Regions from separate parts of the Homo sapiens genome. Here all the other regions are linked to region 3. Evidence: promoter capture Hi-C in human tissues and cell types (Jung and others, 2019). All regions are on one chromosome and are shown on one strand. The core of a region is centred on a gene start or on the middle of the fragment in contact, and the rest is flanking DNA. Distances in the headings are between cores, read along the strand shown. Region 1 holds the start of RSPH1 (radial spoke head component 1). Region 2 overlaps ABCG1 (ATP binding cassette subfamily G member 1). Region 3 holds the start of CSTB (cystatin B).

What was found. Contacts are between HindIII fragments. The study calls those that stand out against the background at their distance.
Region 1: a contact is called between the fragment with the promoter of RSPH1 here and the fragment with the promoter of CSTB in region 3, in 1 of the 25 tissues and cell types used here (dorsolateral prefrontal cortex).
Region 2: a fragment that was not itself captured here is called in contact with the fragment with the promoter of CSTB in region 3 in 1 of the 25 tissues and cell types used here (dorsolateral prefrontal cortex).

The regions. Positions count from the first base shown.
Region 1 is chr21:42,494,935-42,497,634 of GRCh38, forward strand. RSPH1 (radial spoke head component 1) reads right to left here and starts at 1,290. Exons shown (of 9, transcript NM_080860.4): 1 at 1,199-1,290. The coding sequence starts at 1,252. RSPH1-DT (RSPH1 divergent transcript) reads left to right here and starts at 1,605. Exons shown (of 3, transcript NR_135518.1): 1 at 1,605-1,731; 2 at 1,889-1,999; 3 at 2,299-2,509. RefSeq lists silencers at 1,247-1,366, 1,397-1,636. The HindIII fragment of the contact is 9,831 bases long and covers 1-2,700 here.
Region 2 is chr21:42,233,379-42,236,078 of GRCh38, forward strand. All of the region lies in intron 2 of ABCG1 (ATP binding cassette subfamily G member 1), which reads left to right. Among named protein-coding and RNA genes, the nearest start is that of ABCG1, 16 kb to the left of the region's middle. RefSeq lists silencers at 1,339-1,538, 1,549-1,618. The HindIII fragment of the contact is 6,850 bases long and covers 1-2,700 here.
Region 3 is chr21:43,774,858-43,777,557 of GRCh38, forward strand. CSTB (cystatin B) reads right to left here and starts at 1,451. Exons shown (of 3, transcript NM_000100.4): 1 at 1,347-1,451. The coding sequence starts at 1,412. RefSeq lists a silencer at 1,030-2,029. The HindIII fragment of the contact is 5,981 bases long and covers 1-2,700 here.

The DNA of each region.
Region 1 (2,700 bases), core at 40-2,539, 1.3 Mb before region 3:
GGCAATCTGCCCACCTCGGCCTCCCAAAGTGCTGGGATTACAGGTGTGAGCCACCGCGCCTGGCCTGATTTTTTTAAGTGCTCTCCTGGGAGAAAGTAGTAAAGAGGGCAGGGAAGTAGACATGAAAGGGCAGGCAGCTAAGGAAGGATGCCTTTGCAGGTGAAGTCCCAGACTTGGCCTAATCCAACAGGGACTCTGGGGGCATCAATCGCACTGCAGACTTTGTCCTGCTTCTTGCACTAGCTACTGGCTGTCTGGCCGGATGTGAATTTCAGGCACTTCTGGCTCTCCATACTGGGCAGGTAGTTCCAGCGCACAGAGGTGATAGCTTGAGTAGCAAATCAGGCGGAAGCTGGGAGATGAGTGCCCAGAGCTAGCAAAAAGGTCTGGGCAGGCACTGACAGCACCACTGCAGAGTCGCTAGATTTTTCAGTTAATTCTGAAAGTACCTCAACTCTGTACTGTGCATGCAGACCATAGTGGCTGAGGTTCCCTATCTGTCAGCCATGGAGAGGTCACTCTCTGGAGTAGGGAGGAACTACTCTCTGGGTGATAGAAATATTCCCACACAGAACCCAGCTCACAGGCTGGATGTGCCCTCTTTCTCCTCTCTGCTGCCTAACTCAGGAAATAACTCCAAAGACCTGGGTCAGTTCAGATGGGGACTGAAGAAAGCACATGTGAGGATACGCCTATAAGGTAATATCTTCAGGAACCCTCTCCTGAGCCCAGGGCCTCCTCAGCATTTCTTGGAGGCTGCCAGGAAGCAACTATCCTCCATGCATCTAAATGCCGGGGGAGCAAATCTCAGCTACAGAAATGACTTATTCAAGGGCAGTATGGCAGCGTGGGATGATCTGCTCATCCGAGAAAACTGCCTCGATGGGAATTAACACAGGGAGGAGGAAACTTCCAAAGCCTTCCGCTGGGAAATCTTTGCCTTTAATGGGAGGCAGGATGGGGGTGGGGGAAGAACGAGGCGGCATGTGGTAACCAGACGTCACAGCGTTTCACTTTTCACCATCAACTTCCAGGACGCACGCAGGTGTGTCTGGCGTGGCCTTCGTCCCTGCCGGGGATCCTGGGGAGCTGTGGCTCAGACCTCTGGTTTCTGCGCCTCCTCACTCTCCAAACCCAACCTCGAGGTTCCCCCGCCGCTGCGCACCCTGGGAAGCCCTTTCTCACCAGGAGCTCTCACCCCAATATCATTCTCTCCCTCCTCCTCCAACTCCTCCGAGCCCAGGTCCGACATGGTCTCGCCCCAGCCTGGATCACAGCCGCAGCGCCTCTAGCAGGTGGGTAGCAACCGCCTCCACCGCCGCGTCCCGCGTCGCCATGGAGACGCGGCCGGTCCCGCCTCCCTCCCAGCCCGGAAGATGGGGAGCGGGGACAGGCGACGCGGACGAAGCGGGAGGAGCCACTGGCAGCCTTTGCGTACTGTCATAGCAACGGGAAGGGCACCTCGACCAATCACCGCCCGGGAATACGGAGGGGCGGGGCGGAAGGGACGAGGTGGAGCCAGTGGCAGCACTCTGGTGCCGTCATAGCAACGAGGGGCCGCTTCGGCCAATCACTGCTCGGGAAGCGAGGGGGCGGGGACTGGGCAGGGCCTGAGCGGGTTCTGTGCCTGGCTGCCCACCGGCTCTCTGACCTGGACCTCGCCGTCGCTGGCCCCTGAAATCCATCACTTTTGTCGGCTGTTCTGTGACGCCACAACGAGGAGCCACCTGGGTACTGGGCCCTCAAGAGGAAGGACGCGGGAAACGCGTCCGGGCCAACTCTCGAGAGGGTTTCACCCCTGCCCAGTGCGGGCACTGCCCGCTCCCTTCCGCCCCCAGGCCTCGCAGGCCCCTCCGGGGATGCTGCCCACCCCCACTTACCTTTCTAGGCTCTGCTGACCCTTCGGGATTCGCGGCTAGCTGTGATGTGTCCGCCAAGATCTCTTCTCTTGTCTGTAAACAACTTCACTCTCAAGGAGGCAGCTCTGGCCTCTCAGCAGGTGCGGCCTACAGTGATGTCCGTCCGGGTTTTACATCCTTCCCCGACCTCGACATGAGTCCCAGCCCCCTCGGGCCTCTGACTCTCAGGTGTCCCCTACGATCGCCGTCCTCTCCTCTCGCTCCTGGCTCCCCTACACTGTCACACACCCACACAATCACAGACGCACACGCATGTACACGTGCAGGCTTGGAAATCTGCTTTACCTGACGCACTCCGCCTGCCGAAGGCCCCTCACATCTCCCATTTCCTCTGCCATCATCCCAGACTGCAAAGCTGTGTTATTTGTTGTTGCTGCAGGAGCTGGGGAGGAGTGACTGAATAACTATAGGATTTGGTCTTGATGGGAGAATCCCAGAAGCCAAATCCACGCGGTGAATAAGCTGCTGATCTTCCAGAGCACACATCCCCTAGAGATTCTTCCCAATGCTAATATGAAAGGTTACAACCATAACCCATCATCAGGCCCAAATATATTACTTACTGAATAAATACACAAGTTACAACAACACACGAGATTCCAAAATTATGTCGTTTTTTAGATGCAAAGATAAAAATGTTGTAAACACCAAAATTTAACAGCTTTTCTTATGGGGAAAAGTGGGGAGTTAGGGATAACAGATGATTATTATTTTCTTCTCTACATATTGGCAGTTACCCAGTTACTACAATTAAGCATGTCCTATTTTTATAATAAAATGC
Region 2 (2,700 bases), core at 127-2,626, 1.5 Mb before region 3:
ACCATTTCTGACAAGGGACAGCCAGCTTCTGTCTGAGCACTTCCAGCAACCAGGAACTGACACCTCCCAGGCAGCCGGGCTATGTTTGCACAACCCTCATTCTTAGAAAATGCTTCTGTCTGTTGAGCTGCAATCTGTATTTGAGCAATGTTCATTTGTGGATCCAGGTTCTGTTTTTTGAAACTCCGTAGACCAAGTTAATCTTGGTCTTGAAATAAGCTCACAAATCAAGGGGAAAAGCCCAGCCAAGTACAGAACAATAACCAAATACATTACAATCCAGAGCTACCTTGAGAGGAGGAAATAAGAAGCACATGGCCCTTGCAGGAAATGAGGTCAGAGTCCTGCTTTGGGAGGTGGGCATCACTGCGGCATCCGCAGGGTGCAGGTCAGTGGGCAGGCGCCCCTGCTGGAAGGTTCTTGCTGTCTGTAAACTGATAAGGGTGGAACCCGCTGGAAGGGCAGAACCTGAGTCACGTTCTTTCTGTTTCTTTTACTGTTATAAGGCAACTTGGTGCCTTCCAACCAAAAAAGTCCCCCTCTCTGATATCTCAACTGCCTGTCTTGAAAGTGAACCTTTTGGCAGGAGTTTTTATGGGATTTCTCAGTTGTTATTTCTCTCCTCCCACTGTTTTGGGAGAAGTGTTTTTTTTTGTTGTTGTTGTTTTAATTAAAAATAACTGGTGTTTACTGAGCAAATCGTGTTTGCTTTATTTGGCGCTTTGCCTCATTAAGCCTTTGGGGAGCAGCATGGGACACACATCAGTATGGGCATCTTCTCCAGAAGGGAAGGAGGGTGGAGGGGGAACGAGGGCCTGCCCAGGACCGCTGGCAGGTAGGGGGCAGGTCCAGGACTGGACTTAACACCTGGAGTCCCAACTCCCTGCCTCTATAAGCGCCACTGAGAACTCATCTCTTTGCAATCGCTCAGACCCAGATAATAAAATAAGCTGGGTTGAGTTTTCCTTACCCAAGACATAAACCCCAAACCCTGCTGACAATGAGGAGCTACAAAAGGCCTCTCCTCCTCCTGGGGCACGTGTTCCGGGAATTCTTTCATGGATGCAGGTATGGGGGCATCTTTGGCCTCTGTCCTTTGTCTGGAGCTCCCCGCACCTGGCTGGGGGCTGCACTGGACACCTCTGCCCACCCTGGCCCTGGGGTTATCAGGCCACCTGGCCTCCACCCAGACGTTCCCTCCCAGGGCGGGATTCATCCTGGCCCGTGGTGATGTGCAGGCTCCCGGAAGGCCGGGCTCTGCCCACTAAGTGTCAGCTCTAACGCAGGCTCTCCATACTGAGTAAAAAAGCCCGTCCTTTCTCTGGCTGGTGCAGGTGCTGACTCTGCAGGCCTGTGGACGCAGGGTGACGTTCGCGCTCTTGCCCGAGCTCAACGCCCGGGAGAAAACAGCGCTGCCGGAGCCCCTCGCGCGCGCAGGTGCGGGCGGGGCGGGTGCGCGCTGCCGCGCGTGTGCAGCGCCCGCCCATCCGCCGCCACCGCCCGCGCCGGGGTTACTACCGGTCAACGCTCGCTAGTAACCTCCGCGGCGGAGCGGCGGCGCGGGGAGCGGCGCGATTGGCTGCGGGCGCCCCGCGCTGTTGCCAAGCGCGAGGAGGCAGCTGCAGCCCCGAGCGGGGTCGCAGCCTCCCTGGGACAGGGGCGGCCCTATGCATAGGGGATCACCCGGGCCATGCAAATCCCGGCGCCCCGCGCGTGCTGGTGTTCTCCTCCCCAGGTCCAGGAACACCGGTCCAGGAAGCCTGAGAGCGCTGGCAGTAGGAAGGGTCGCCAGTGTGGACCTGAGGGTGGAGGTGTTGCCACCCGGGGCGGCCTGCGCTCCATTCAGGCTTGAGCGGTGACTGGGAGACCCCGGGAATGGAAATGGCGCTCAAATGCTGGTGTGGTGTCCGCAGGGGAACGGCCCGCGGGTGTGTGGAGTCTGCGCCCCTGTGGCTTCAGCTGCGTCGGGGGACTGCGGGAATCTTCCAGACTCCAGTTTAAATCAGAGAGGTGTGTCCACGAAAAGAGTCAAACTAAAACATTTAAAGAGATTTATCCTGAGTGACCATGGCCCGTGACACAGCCTCAGGAGACCAGGAGAACACGTGCCCAAAGGGGTCGGGAACAGCTTGGTTTCATACTTTTAGGGAGACGTAAGACAGTGATCAATATTTAAGATGTACATTGGTTCCGTCTAGAAAGGTGGGACAGCCCAAAGGGGGACTTCCAGGTTATAGGTAAATTTAAATTTTTTTCTAATTGGTTAAGTTATTATCGATAGAAAGGGATGTCTGGGTTACGATACGGGGCTGTGGGGACCTAGGTTGTATCATGCGGATGAGGCCTCCAGGCAGCAGGCTTGAGAGAGAACAGACTGTAAATGCTTCGTATCAGACTTAAGGTCTGTGTTGATGTTAATGTTACAGGCTACGATAAGGCATGTCAGACGGACCGCCACTTCCCGTCATGGCCTGAACCAGTCTTTCAGGGGAAATTTTAGAGTGCCCTGGCCAAGGAGGGAGTCCATCCCCATGGTTCAGGGGGCCTTTGAATTTTATTTTTGATTTACAGGTCTTTACTTCAGGTGGCACAATTTTCCTAGGAGACAGTTGATTTTTGATTCCTTATAAAACGTGCTGGTTTTGTTTTTAGCTGACAGTGTGGGGTGAAGCTGTAAGGGAGCCAGGGCCTCCTGGGGTT
Region 3 (2,700 bases), core at 201-2,700:
ACTGGCTCTTCACACAATTGTCTCTTACAACTGAAGGGACATTTAAACTGTCAGCCTAATAATAAAGTAGAAAAAAACAGTTCCAGCTGGGTACGGTGGCTCAAGGATGTAATCCCAGAACTTTGGGAGGCTGAGGTGGGCGGATCACTTGAGGTCAGGAGTTTGAGACCAGCCTAGCCAAATGGCAAAACCCCGTTTCTACTAAAAATACAAAAATTAGCTGGGCGTGGTGGCGAGCACCTGCAATCCCAGCTACTCGGGAGGCTAAGGCAGGAGAATCCCTTGAACCTGGGAAGCGGAGGTTGCAGTGGGCCGAGATTGTGCCACTGCACTCCACCCTGGGCAAGAGTGAGACTGAGTCTCAAAAACAAAAAAAAAAAACACAGGCCTCAGCATCGCCTGGACCTGTTCTTGCTTGGGGCATCCCGTCGGTCACCAACCATGACAGCGAGGCGGGCCTGGCCTGTGCTCCACCGGAGGGGGCTTCTTGCACAGATGACCTGCTCATTTCAGCCCCTCCAGAATCTTCTGGCAGGCGCAGAGCAACAGGACGTCCATTTTACAGACGAGGAAACCGAGACACAGGGAAGGTTGCCATCTGCAACCCAGCCCGGTTTTTATCTTGTTTTTCTGTGTTTTAACTTTTTATTTAGACTTACAGTTTGAAACAGTGCTAGAATCGGAAGCATGTAAAGAAACCTGTGGACCTTTTATGCAGATACACTTAAGTTTTTAACCCATGTGCCTTATCACTGGGGACCTCTTGCACTCTCTCTCATGATTTTTTTCCCGAACTAGATGAGGATATTGACAAAGATTCTTGCTTGGCCAAACTGTAGTCGGGCTCCTGAAGCGCCTAGGCCACCTGCGCACTTCCTTGTAAAATCCACTTTTAGCAAGAAGCCTGGCTAAGTCAGTTTAGCCAGACCCTTCCCACCCGCTTGCTATCGGATCACCGTGGAGATCGGAGCCGGCTGCTCACCTGCGCCATCGCCGGCGACGCCCGATCACCCTGCCTGCCTGAAACCAGAAGCGCCTCATCCCTGGGGTTTCCTCTCAGAGACTGTCCATGCAGGGACCGCACCCTGCTCCGGGCTATCAATTCCCACTCGCCCTTGCTGTATTCAGCGGAGCCCAATGTCTCCCCAGCGGCGCCCCAGGCGCGGCCCCCCGCTGCTCACTCGCGCGCAGCGCCCGAGCGGAGGGAGGCCTCTCACGGCCACAGCCCGGGCCAGCCCAGGGGTGCGCAGCGGGGCCAAAGCGGCTTCTTTCGCTCCAGGAGCCGCGGCCGCGCCCTGAGGCTAAGGCAGGACTCCGGGCCGGCCCCGTCCCCGCGGCCCACCCACCTGGTCGGCGATGTGCTGGGTCTCGGCGGTGGCCGGCTGCGTGGCGGAGGGCGCCCCGCACATCATCTTGGCGGCGACGGAGGGAATCTGGCGAGGGGACTCGGCGAGGGGACGCGGCGGCTCCTCAGCCCAAGTAGGCGCTGGGGTCACGTGACGCGCGGGCGGAACCAAGGGGCGGGGAGGAGGCACTTTGGCTTCGGAGTCCCCTGCGGGGTCGCGGTGGCCCCGCAAGAAGGGACGCGCGGGGCGGGGCGCGGGGCGGGGCGCGGGGCGGGGAACCTGGCCACCACTCGCCGCAGGCTGGGTCTCCGCGCCCAGCGCTGGTGTCGGGAGGGAGCGCCCCCCTCCCGGGGCTGGTATCGTCTTTCCGGGCGCCGAGTCACACGGACCGGGGCGGGGGCGCGGCCGGGTGTCGCCGGTGGGTTGGGCGCGCAGGGTGGGACGATAGGGAAGGGGCAGTCGGAGTAGGCGCAATCCTGCAGGGTGGCGGGGTCCGGGCCGCGCACGAGGGAGGGCGGGGCGCAGCGCTGCAGGGGTCAGGGGTCAGGGGTCCCGGCCCCGCGGGAGCAGGTGTGCGGGCTGCAGTGGACATCACCGCTTGTGACCGAGAACACTGAAGGCTGAAGGGGGTGGACAGAGGGGCCCAGGGAGGGGGAGACGGCGCCCACGCGCTCCAGGCTGGGTGGGGGCAGGGGGTAGATCAGAGGGATGAGAAGAAGGCAGGGTTCTCTGGTGGAATTTGCGTTTTAGGATTTCTTTTCTTTCTTTCCTTTTCTTTTCTTTTTTTTTTTTTTTTTTTTTTTTTGAGACGGAGTCTCGCTCTGTCTCCCAGGCTGGAGTGCAGTGGCGCGATCTCGGCTTACTGCAGGCTCCGCCTCCCGGGTTCACGCCATTCTCCTGCCTCAGCCTCCCGAGTAGCTGGGACTACAGGCGCCCGCCACCACACCTGGCTAATTTTTGTATTTTTAGTAGAGACGGGGTTTCACTGTGTTAGCCAGGATGGTCTCGATCTCCTGACCTTGTGATCCACCCGCCTTGGCCTCCCAAAGTGCTGGGATTACAGGTGTGAGCCACTGCGCCCGGCCTTTTTTTTTTTTTTTTTGAGACGGAGTCTGGATCTGTCGCCTAGGCTGGAGTGCAGTGGCGCAATCTCGGCTCACTGCAAGCTCCGCCTCCGGGGTTCACACCATTCTCCTGCCTCGGCCTCCCGAGTAGCTGGGACTACAGGCGCGCGCCTTCATGCGCAGCTAATTTTTGTGTTTTTAGTAGAGACGGGGTTTCACCATATTGGCCAGGCTGGTCTCGAACTCCTGACCTCGTGATCCACCTGCCTCGGGCTCCCAAAGTGCTGGAA